Linked DNA regions of Homo sapiens: all the other regions are linked to region 2. The links are contacts of gene promoters, found by promoter capture Hi-C in blood cells and fetal thymus (Javierre and others, 2016). All regions are on one chromosome and are shown on one strand. The core of a region is centred on a gene start or on the middle of the fragment in contact, and the rest is flanking DNA. Distances in the headings are between cores, read along the strand shown.

Region 1 (2,700 bases), core at 26-2,525, 560 kb after region 2:
GAGTACTTCAGGACACCCTCTGGCACCCACACACATATCCTGCTTCATTCTGGTGGAGCAGATAAAGGTACATTTCTTAGTGCCTTATTTCCAGTCTTTGATAGCCTACAGGGGACAAAATACACCACAAATAGAATAAGGAGGAGATAAAAGAAGAAAATAAATCTCAAAATATTCACTCTGAAATCTTTTAAGGTTTAGGACTATGTTTTAGCAATCTTTTCATTTCTTTTACTCTATACGCTATGATACTTTAAAATTAACTAAATGAAATCAATAGGTCTTCTTAAAGTAACACTTTTAATATGTTCCATACAAAGAGAACATGCATGGGTGTTTGAGGAGATGTAATGTTAAAATGTAAAATAAACTGGACTGCTTATAGGTGAAAGTGTTACAATTACAAAATTCAATTAGGTCCCCAAAATTTCGGCAAAAATGGTCATATATCTACAAAAATTATGTTTGCATCTATCCTTTGTCCTAGTAATAATTCTAGAATATATCCTAAAGACACATTGGTAAAAATAGGAAATGACTGATATACCCGGTTATTCACTGAGGCAGTATTTGGCAGCAAAACTGCAAGCAACCGAAGGCCATCGATAGGGAACTAGCCGAGTCGAGTATGGCACCTCCTCACAAGACAAAAAGGAATGAGGACAAGCACTGTGCACTGACATGGAGTGAACCCAGGTCACACTGTTAAGTTAAAAAAAAAAAAAAAGGTACACAATAGTATATGTTCTATGCTACCGTTTCTGCAAAAAAGGAAGGTAATATATAAAATAAACTCTGGCCTGGCACACTGGCTCATGCCTGTAATCCCAGCATGCCAGGAGGCCGAGGTGGGAGGATCACTTGAGGCTAGGAGTCTGAGACCAGCCTGGGCAACATAGGGAGACCCTGTCTCTACAAAAAAAATTAAATTAAATTAAATTAAAAAGTTAGCCAGGCATGGTGGCACACACCCGTAGTCGCAGCTACTCAGGAAGCTGAGGCAGGAAGATGGCTTGAGCCTGGGAGTTCAAGGCTACATTGAGCCAAGATTGCACCACTGTACTCCAGCCTCAGCAACAGAGTGAGACCCTATCTAAAATAAAATATAAAATATAAAATAAATAAATAAAATAAATAAGCATGGTGAAAGATAATCCAGAATTTAATTTAATGATTACTTATGGGGGAGAATACAGTTAAGACTTCTCTGAATATACTGTTACATGACTCTGGAAACATATGTTTCTATAGTTAAAAAATAAAATTAAATGAATGTTAAAACAAAATAAAGAGAATAAACCTATCATATTGGTGACATAGCCACAAATGGCTTTTGAGCATAGTATACTGATTGCACATACCTAGAACATATTCTTTTGACAAATAAGCTGCAAAGAAATCACACTTCTTTCAACAATTTAACTGTTACTGTGGTGTATTTTAAAGTAGGTTAATACAAATAAGTAGTTTATGTTAAAGTTGTTAGGAGCCAAGATTCAATGTAGGAAAAATTAGATTTAAGTATAAAATCAAAGTTAAGAAAAAATTCTGTAATATAAAATTTGACTTAGACATATCAGTCTGAATTCACTTTTTTTTCTTTTTAGTTATCACCAAAAAGACCTGGAAGCAATAAGAAGCGATAGCAATGAGCACACCTACAGCCCCTTCCCTTAAATCCTCTCCCCACCAAGAGGCAAGGGGTCCTTGGAGGAATGGCTGGGTTCAAAGCCAGAGTAGCACTTACAAAATGAGCCTGGGACATCCTGTTATGCCAGAAAGCAAGAGGGCCGTGCCAAAGGAACACAGAGCCAATCATGCAACTGAGCATCAAAAGGAATAAGAAAGGCAATTGAGTGAGACGCATTCAATATACAAACCCCAGGAGCTCATAATGACTGTAGAGAATGGGGAAGAAAGAGACAGACAGGCAGGCAGAGAGATGGAGAGACCCAAGGCACTGAACAAAATTGGAATTAACTAGGGGCCCAACTTTTTACCCTAAAAATTGGTAATTAAATGGAGAGAAGCATCTATCCTATTTCCTCTATGAACTCTCTTTCAAGACAAAGAAACAACCAGCTAATATGTGCATTCTCCTCATCAAACACCTGATTCAAACCATGAAAAGCAATGGGTGAAAAAAGCGGCTGGAAGGCTGATCCAGGACTTGACACTGCCAGGACCAGGCTGTCACCACCTGAAGCCAGGGATCGATCTTAGCATGACTCAAAGAGGAACAACCAGACACGTGTGCCTCCTGCTGTGGTGCAATGGGAAACACCCAGCACCCTCTGAAGACATTCTTGTCAAAAGACTGAAGCAAAACCTAATCAAGCCTCTGGAGCTAATTTTTAATGGAAAGAACTGAAGGGACAGAGGAACTACTAGGAAGCAAGTAGCAAAATATCAAAAGGTGAGCCACTCTACAGCACAACTGCCCCTTTTTTTTTGCAATAAGGACACGAGGGAAAAAAAGCCGGTAAGGTGGGAGGAGTTGCTCTAAATGAAAGCGATTTGAGACATAACAATCAGATGTAATCAGAGGAACTTCTTTGCAATCTGAAGCAAACCAGCTGCTAAAAGAGGACAGTCAAGGAAATGTGATTCGGGGTATGAGATTACACTGTGTGCTGTTAACTATGTGATCATGTCATTGTAGCTATGTAAACCAATGTCTACAGCCTTAGAGATGCACAG
Region 2 (2,745 bases), core at 188-2,687:
CCTTTTGCCAGACATTGTCAGCCCCAGAGGCTCCCGCCAGCCCCCCAAAAGCTCATAATTAAAAGCCCGAGGGGGCAGAGAAGGACCTGGCTGCAGGGGAGCCCGGCAAACCCAGCATCCTGGCGGAGGCGGGAGGCCCGCCGGCCTCTGGAAACCACGCGGCTGCCTCCCCACCGCAGCCATTCCCCGCTCTCCCTGGGGGTTCTCAGATGTTGCCAGATGGCAGAACTGAATCTGCTGAGACGTCACTCCAAAAAAGGAAAGTTGAACTGAAAAAAAAAAAAAAAATTCAAACTCTCCAACATCTTAGGAGAAAGCAGAAGAGGAGGGAGGGAGGGAGGCTCCAGGCCCAGGGCTCCCAGTGCCCTCTGCTGTTCAAAGAGATCTGCCCTGGTTGGAGAGGGCAAACCTGGAGGGGGTGGGAGGAGGGGGTAAATGAGGACACTGGGTTGTCAGGGCGGCCAGGGGGGCCAGGTTCCTGCTGGAGCGGAGAGTGTCTGCCTGTGCGTGGGGGAGCGAGCACATGTGTGCCGTCTGTGACTGCGTGCTTGTGCAGGCCGGGCGTGTGTGGCTCCCAGGGTCACGCTTTGGGATGTGTGTGTCTGTGTGTGTGTGTGGGGGGGGCGGGGGGGACACAGGCTCGTTGCATTGTCTCCGCATTTGTGTCCCTGAATGTCCCCAAGTGGGACTTCACTCAACACATTCGTGAGTCCCTACTGCGATAGGGCAGTGAACAAAATAGAAATCTCTGCCCTCAGGAAACTGGCATTCTAGCGTCTGTGTCCTCCGGGGTGCTGTGAACTCGCGTGGGTGTCCCAGTATTTGTCTGTGTGAGATCTGACATCTCCGGTCCGTGGTGGGTGGTGAGTCTGCAGTGTGTTCGCCCGGGCTGGGTCTCGGGTCTGGGGAGGCCCAGCGTGTTCCTGCCTGGAGAGGGCTCTGCGCTACTGTCTGCTCCCGTCCCCAAGTGCCCCACTGGGCGTGCTCCTAAAAGGCCCTGTGTAGGGCCCTCCCTGCGCGCCCCCTCCCCATCCAGCGGCCACTCCAGAGTTATAATTTAATAGCTGAAACGCGATTCCAGTGAGGTACTGGGGCTGGAGAGGAGGAGGAGGGCCCCCGGGCCCGCAGGAGAAGAGGGAGGGGAAGGCTGGGAGGCGCTTCCCCCCTCCTTCCTCCTCGGGGAGCTGCCAAAAAGAAACTCGGCGTCGCGCCCAAGTGTGTGCGTGCGTGTCTGTGTGTGTGGCGGCGTGCGCGCGCGAGTGGGGACGCGCAGGGCCTGGAGAGAAGGCGCGGGCCCTTTAAGGAGCCAGAGGGGGCCGGGCCGGGGCGCGTCGCTGCGGGCGGGGAGCCGGGAGCAGGGAGGCCGAGCCACCGCCTCCCGGGCTCGCGCCCCGCCCCCTCCTCCCCCTCCCGCCGCCGCCGCCGCCGCCGCCGCCGCCACCGCCGCCGCGGCCGCCGGGGAGCGCGGAGCCGCGGGCAGGCCGGGCCGCACCGGAGCCCCGCGTCCGCCGGCGCCCCGCCCGAGCCCTGCGCCCGCGCCCTGCGCTCCGCGATGCGCGCCAACTTGCGGGCCGGGGACCCAGGGCCGGCGCCCTAGGAGGCGGCGGCGGGAGGATCGCGTCCCGACCCGAGGCCGGGCCTGCTGCGCGCCCCCAGCCCGATCGGCACCGCCACTTGCCTGAGCGCCCCGGCGGCCCGAGCGCGCCCCAAGCCCGGGCGCCACCGCTGCCACCTCCGCGAGGTGAGTTGGGGCCGAGGGTCCCCGCGAAGGGCGGGGGGAGGCGCGGAGCGCGCTTCCGGGGGATCCGGGGAGGATCGGGCGGCGCACGCGGCGGAGTTGGCGGGGCCCCTGCACTCCCGAGTTGGCGCTCTCGGGGGGTGGCCTGCTGGGGAGCAAGGCGCCCCGCCGACACTGCGGCCCGCGTGCTCGGGGGCGCCGGGGAACTTAGGGGAACTCCAGCTCCCTAGCGAGGGGGCGGGAAGGAGGGAAGTGGCGTTGGGGTGGGCGGGGGGCGCGCTGGAAATGCACAGAGCGGCCCCCCACAGTGTGCGCCGGCTCTGGGGACTTGGCCGCCAGGCGTCCCTTGTACCCGGTGTAGCCCCGGACCTGGCGGGGCGACACTGCGCCTTATTTTCCATCGGGCAGCGCGGGTTTGAAAGCCCTTGGAGATGGTACCCCTAGCTCCCTGGCCTGGCTGTTGTGGAGGGGCGCATGAGGGTCTCTCACCAGCCGAGGGGGAGAGCCAGCCTTGTCCCTCCTAGGCGTGGGGCCACGGGGCGCTGGGCGGGGTCCCTCGGGAGAGTCGCCCCTGGTCCCCCTCCCCCGCGGGCCGGTGTTCCTGGTGTCTGGGCCTGCCTCCCGTGGCTGGTGACGCCTCATTGGGCCGCCTCCTAGTCCCTCCCCCGGGCTGTGCGGATACTTGGGATGCCACTACTTTGCGAAGTTGGAATTCAGAGCTGATCCCACTTGGGCACGACTGGGAAGACCCAGACCCTTGTCTAGAGGGCAGCTTCCTCAGAGGCCTGCGGGGAGTGAGGGCACCCGTGGGGTACGCCCTCCCCGCCCCAGACACTTGCAGGAGGAGCAAGCCGAGGGCGGGAGGGCACGGCGGGCGGGAGGGAGAGACAGGCTGTACCTGGGAGCTGCTGTCGCCCGGGCCCAATTAGCGTGGGGCGCCCGGCGTTATTTTTACATTGTAGGTTTATTTTTTTGGAAGCGAGTGTCCTCCCGCCGCCTGTCGCGCG
Region 3 (2,820 bases), core at 80-2,579, 590 kb after region 2:
CACTTCACTCCTATCTCACATATTACCGCTTTGTCAAAACATACAAACCTTGTTAAATAATGTCCCAATTTTTAATTTGACTCTCTGATACTTTTAAGTATAGACAACTAGTTTAACATTTATGTGTACTTTTTGCATACCAAGTACCTTTTTATTGCTTTTATTTATCCCCACTTCTTAAAAATTAGAAACAAGGATTTGTGGGGGTTTTGTTTGTTTTGTGAGACAGTCTCCCTCTGTTGCCCAGGCTGGAGTGCAGTGGCATGATCTCCGCTCACTGCAAGCTCCACCTCCCGGGTTCACGCCATTCTCCTGCCTCAGCCTCCCGAGTAGCTGGGAATACGGGTGCCTGCCACCACGCCCAGCTAATTTTTTGTATTTTTAGTAGAGACAGGGTTTCACCGTGTTAGCCAGGATGGTCTCGGTCTCCTGACCTCATGATCCACCTGCCTCCCAAAGTGCTGGGATTACAGGTGTGAGCCACTGTGCATGGCCAGGATCTTTTTTTTTTTTAATCAAACATTGATTTGACCTTAGTGTAGCTGGTAACGTGAGGTCAATGTGAATTCCAAGGGAAAGCTCACGTCTCTTCCAGGCAGCCCTCTGAGATGGCCAACCTGGTCTCCCCACTTCTACTCTCCACCCCCAACACGCCCCCACATCTTGCATGCAACGACTAGAGTGGCTGTTTAAAGATACAAATCTGATTATGTCACTCCTCTTCGTAAATCCCAACCCATATCATGGTTTCCCATTTCACTCGGGATAAAATACAACCACTTTAACCTGCCCTACATGACCCTACTTGATCTGGCCCCTGGCCTAGCCACTCTTCCCCTTCACCTCCATAGTCTATCCACATTCATTCTTTCAGTTCCTGGAATGGGCAAAGCTTTTTCCCCACTTTGAGGCCTTCCCACATGCTGTTCCTCTGCCTGGAAAATTATCCCCCACTTTCCTCCACACTAACACCTACGCACTCTTCAAATCTCAGCTTAAATCTTATTTATACAGAAAAGTCTTTCCTAGGCCCCTTCTCTCCACTCTAAAATTTGGTCTCCCCTTTTTTATACTCCCTCATAGCAGGTGCTTCTTAACTTTCACAGCAGATACCAGTTTGTGATCATACGTGTAGTTGTGATTGTGTTTAAATTCCAATCCCCCTCACAAATCATAAGCTTCAAGAGAACAAAATAAGTTGATTTTGCTGGCCACACTACAGGCACTCATATATATCTGAAAGAAAGAAAAATACATAAAAAGCCCCTAATCGTATCTCATACATCTTAAAATGTTACCCATCACATCATTCAATCATTATTCAAATGATTAAAATATTAAATCTCAATATTAAAACTCTGATGCAGCCTGCAAATTTAGTAACAATCCCTTTTCCCTGAAGGACATAAAAGCTAATCTGAATCTGCTGCTGCCACAGAAAAATACATGTACAACTTACAACTCTAAGGAAATAAGCTTAAATATTATAGTGCGAGTATTGTCTAGTGTTCAGTTTGCTAATATGTTTATTCACAGTCAACTAATTTATATGCCTTATTTTTTAAGGTATGTAAAACCACTAGGGGCTGGGCACAGTGGCTCACACCTGTAATCCCAACACTTTGGGAGGACTGCTTTAGGCCAGGAGTTTGAGACCAGTTGGGGCAAGATAGTAAGAGCCTGTCATTACAAAAATAAAATAAATCAGCCAGGTGTGGTGGCACATGGTTGTAGTCATTCCTAACTACTGGGGAGGCTGAGGCACAAGGATCACTTGAGCCCAGGAGTCCCAGGCTGCAGTGAACTAGAATCATGCCACTACACTCCAGCCACGGCAACAGAAAGAGACCCTATCTCTCTCTCTTTTTTTTTTTTTTTAATGAAGAGGAAGAAAAGAAAGCCCTAGGAAAAAATGCTTTGCAAAATATTGTTAAGAAGACTAATGTATTGTCAGTACTTGATAAAAATTAATTTAAAAAGTCACAAATTAAAAAGCATTCAAAGTTGACTATCTGTAGTGCTCTGTGATATGATACACACACATCTGGTCAAAAAATATAAATGATATTGCAAATAATTTTTGGATCACAAAGGCTAATAAAACCAACCTTTATATATACTACTTTACATTCCACAACACATACGCACTGTATCACTGAACTCTATGGAGCAGACAGAGCAGGCCATTTACAGAAAAGAAAACCGAGGTTTGGTGTGATTCAATGTCCTCCCCAAGGTCACACAACTTCTAACTGCTAGAGTCAGAACTACCATAGGGGAGGGGTGGCTGCTTCCACATATCAATTTCTTAACCAAAAGAGAACTTCATCATAAATGCCGAATCTCGATAATTAGCGTAGATCTGTGCTCCTATCACCGAAATTTCATCTCATCAGAGAACCACCACCAGCAAAAAAGCTGTTTTAAAGTTAAAACTTAAACTGCTATCAATTTGGGAAATGGCTAAACCATGATATACTGAAACTATGGAACATGGTGCAGCAGTTGTTAAAAAATGACTTGAAGCATTACATGCTAACATTGAAAGTTACGGTGCAACAGTCCTTGTTAAAGCAGTCAAAAATGATGTTAAGTGCACACACGTAAAAGTACTCCAAAAGATCTAGAAGGATAAACACCACACACATAATAGTCGGCATCCCTGAAGACAGAGGTTGATAGTCAAAGACAAAATGCCATCTCTGTGATATGCTGTTTTTACAAAGAAAATGTACTACTCTGCTAATTTAGAATTAATTTTTAAATTTTTAATTAACCTGCGGGTTGAACAAGGTCAATTTCCTGCTCTAAAAAACTATG

The links. The method cuts DNA at HindIII sites, captures the fragments that hold promoters and counts their contacts. A CHiCAGO score of 5 or more calls a contact.
Region 1: a contact is called between a fragment that was not itself captured here and the fragment with the promoter of NCOR2 in region 2, in 2 of 17 cell types (naive CD8 T cells and fetal thymus). The highest score is 5.4, in naive CD8 T cells.
Region 3: a fragment that was not itself captured here is called in contact with the fragment with the promoter of NCOR2 in region 2 in 5 of 17 cell types (non-activated CD4 T cells, naive CD4 T cells, activated CD4 T cells and 2 more); the score reaches 6.9 in non-activated CD4 T cells.

The regions. Positions count from the first base shown.
Region 1 is chr12:124,007,913-124,010,612 of GRCh38, reverse strand. All of the region lies in intron 2 of ZNF664-RFLNA (ZNF664-RFLNA readthrough), which reads right to left. All of the region lies in intron 3 of ZNF664 (zinc finger protein 664), which reads right to left. Among named protein-coding and RNA genes, the nearest start is that of ZNF664-RFLNA, 36 kb to the right of the region's middle. The HindIII fragment of the contact is 5,312 bases long and covers 1-2,700 here.
Region 2 is chr12:124,566,304-124,569,048 of GRCh38, reverse strand. It overlaps NCOR2 (nuclear receptor corepressor 2), which reads left to right and starts at 1,437. Exons shown (of 49, transcript NM_006312.6): 1 at 1,437-1,741. RefSeq lists enhancers at 1-845, 1,012-1,061 and silencers at 1,182-1,431, 1,542-1,901, 1,922-2,031, 2,172-2,391, 2,592-2,691. The HindIII fragment of the contact is 7,570 bases long and covers 1-2,745 here.
Region 3 is chr12:123,974,480-123,977,299 of GRCh38, reverse strand. The region is part of intron 2 of ZNF664-RFLNA (ZNF664-RFLNA readthrough); the gene reads right to left. All of the region lies in intron 2 of ZNF664 (zinc finger protein 664), which reads right to left. Among named protein-coding and RNA genes, the nearest start is that of ZNF664-RFLNA, 2.7 kb to the right of the region's middle. The HindIII fragment of the contact is 298 bases long and covers 1,181-1,478 here.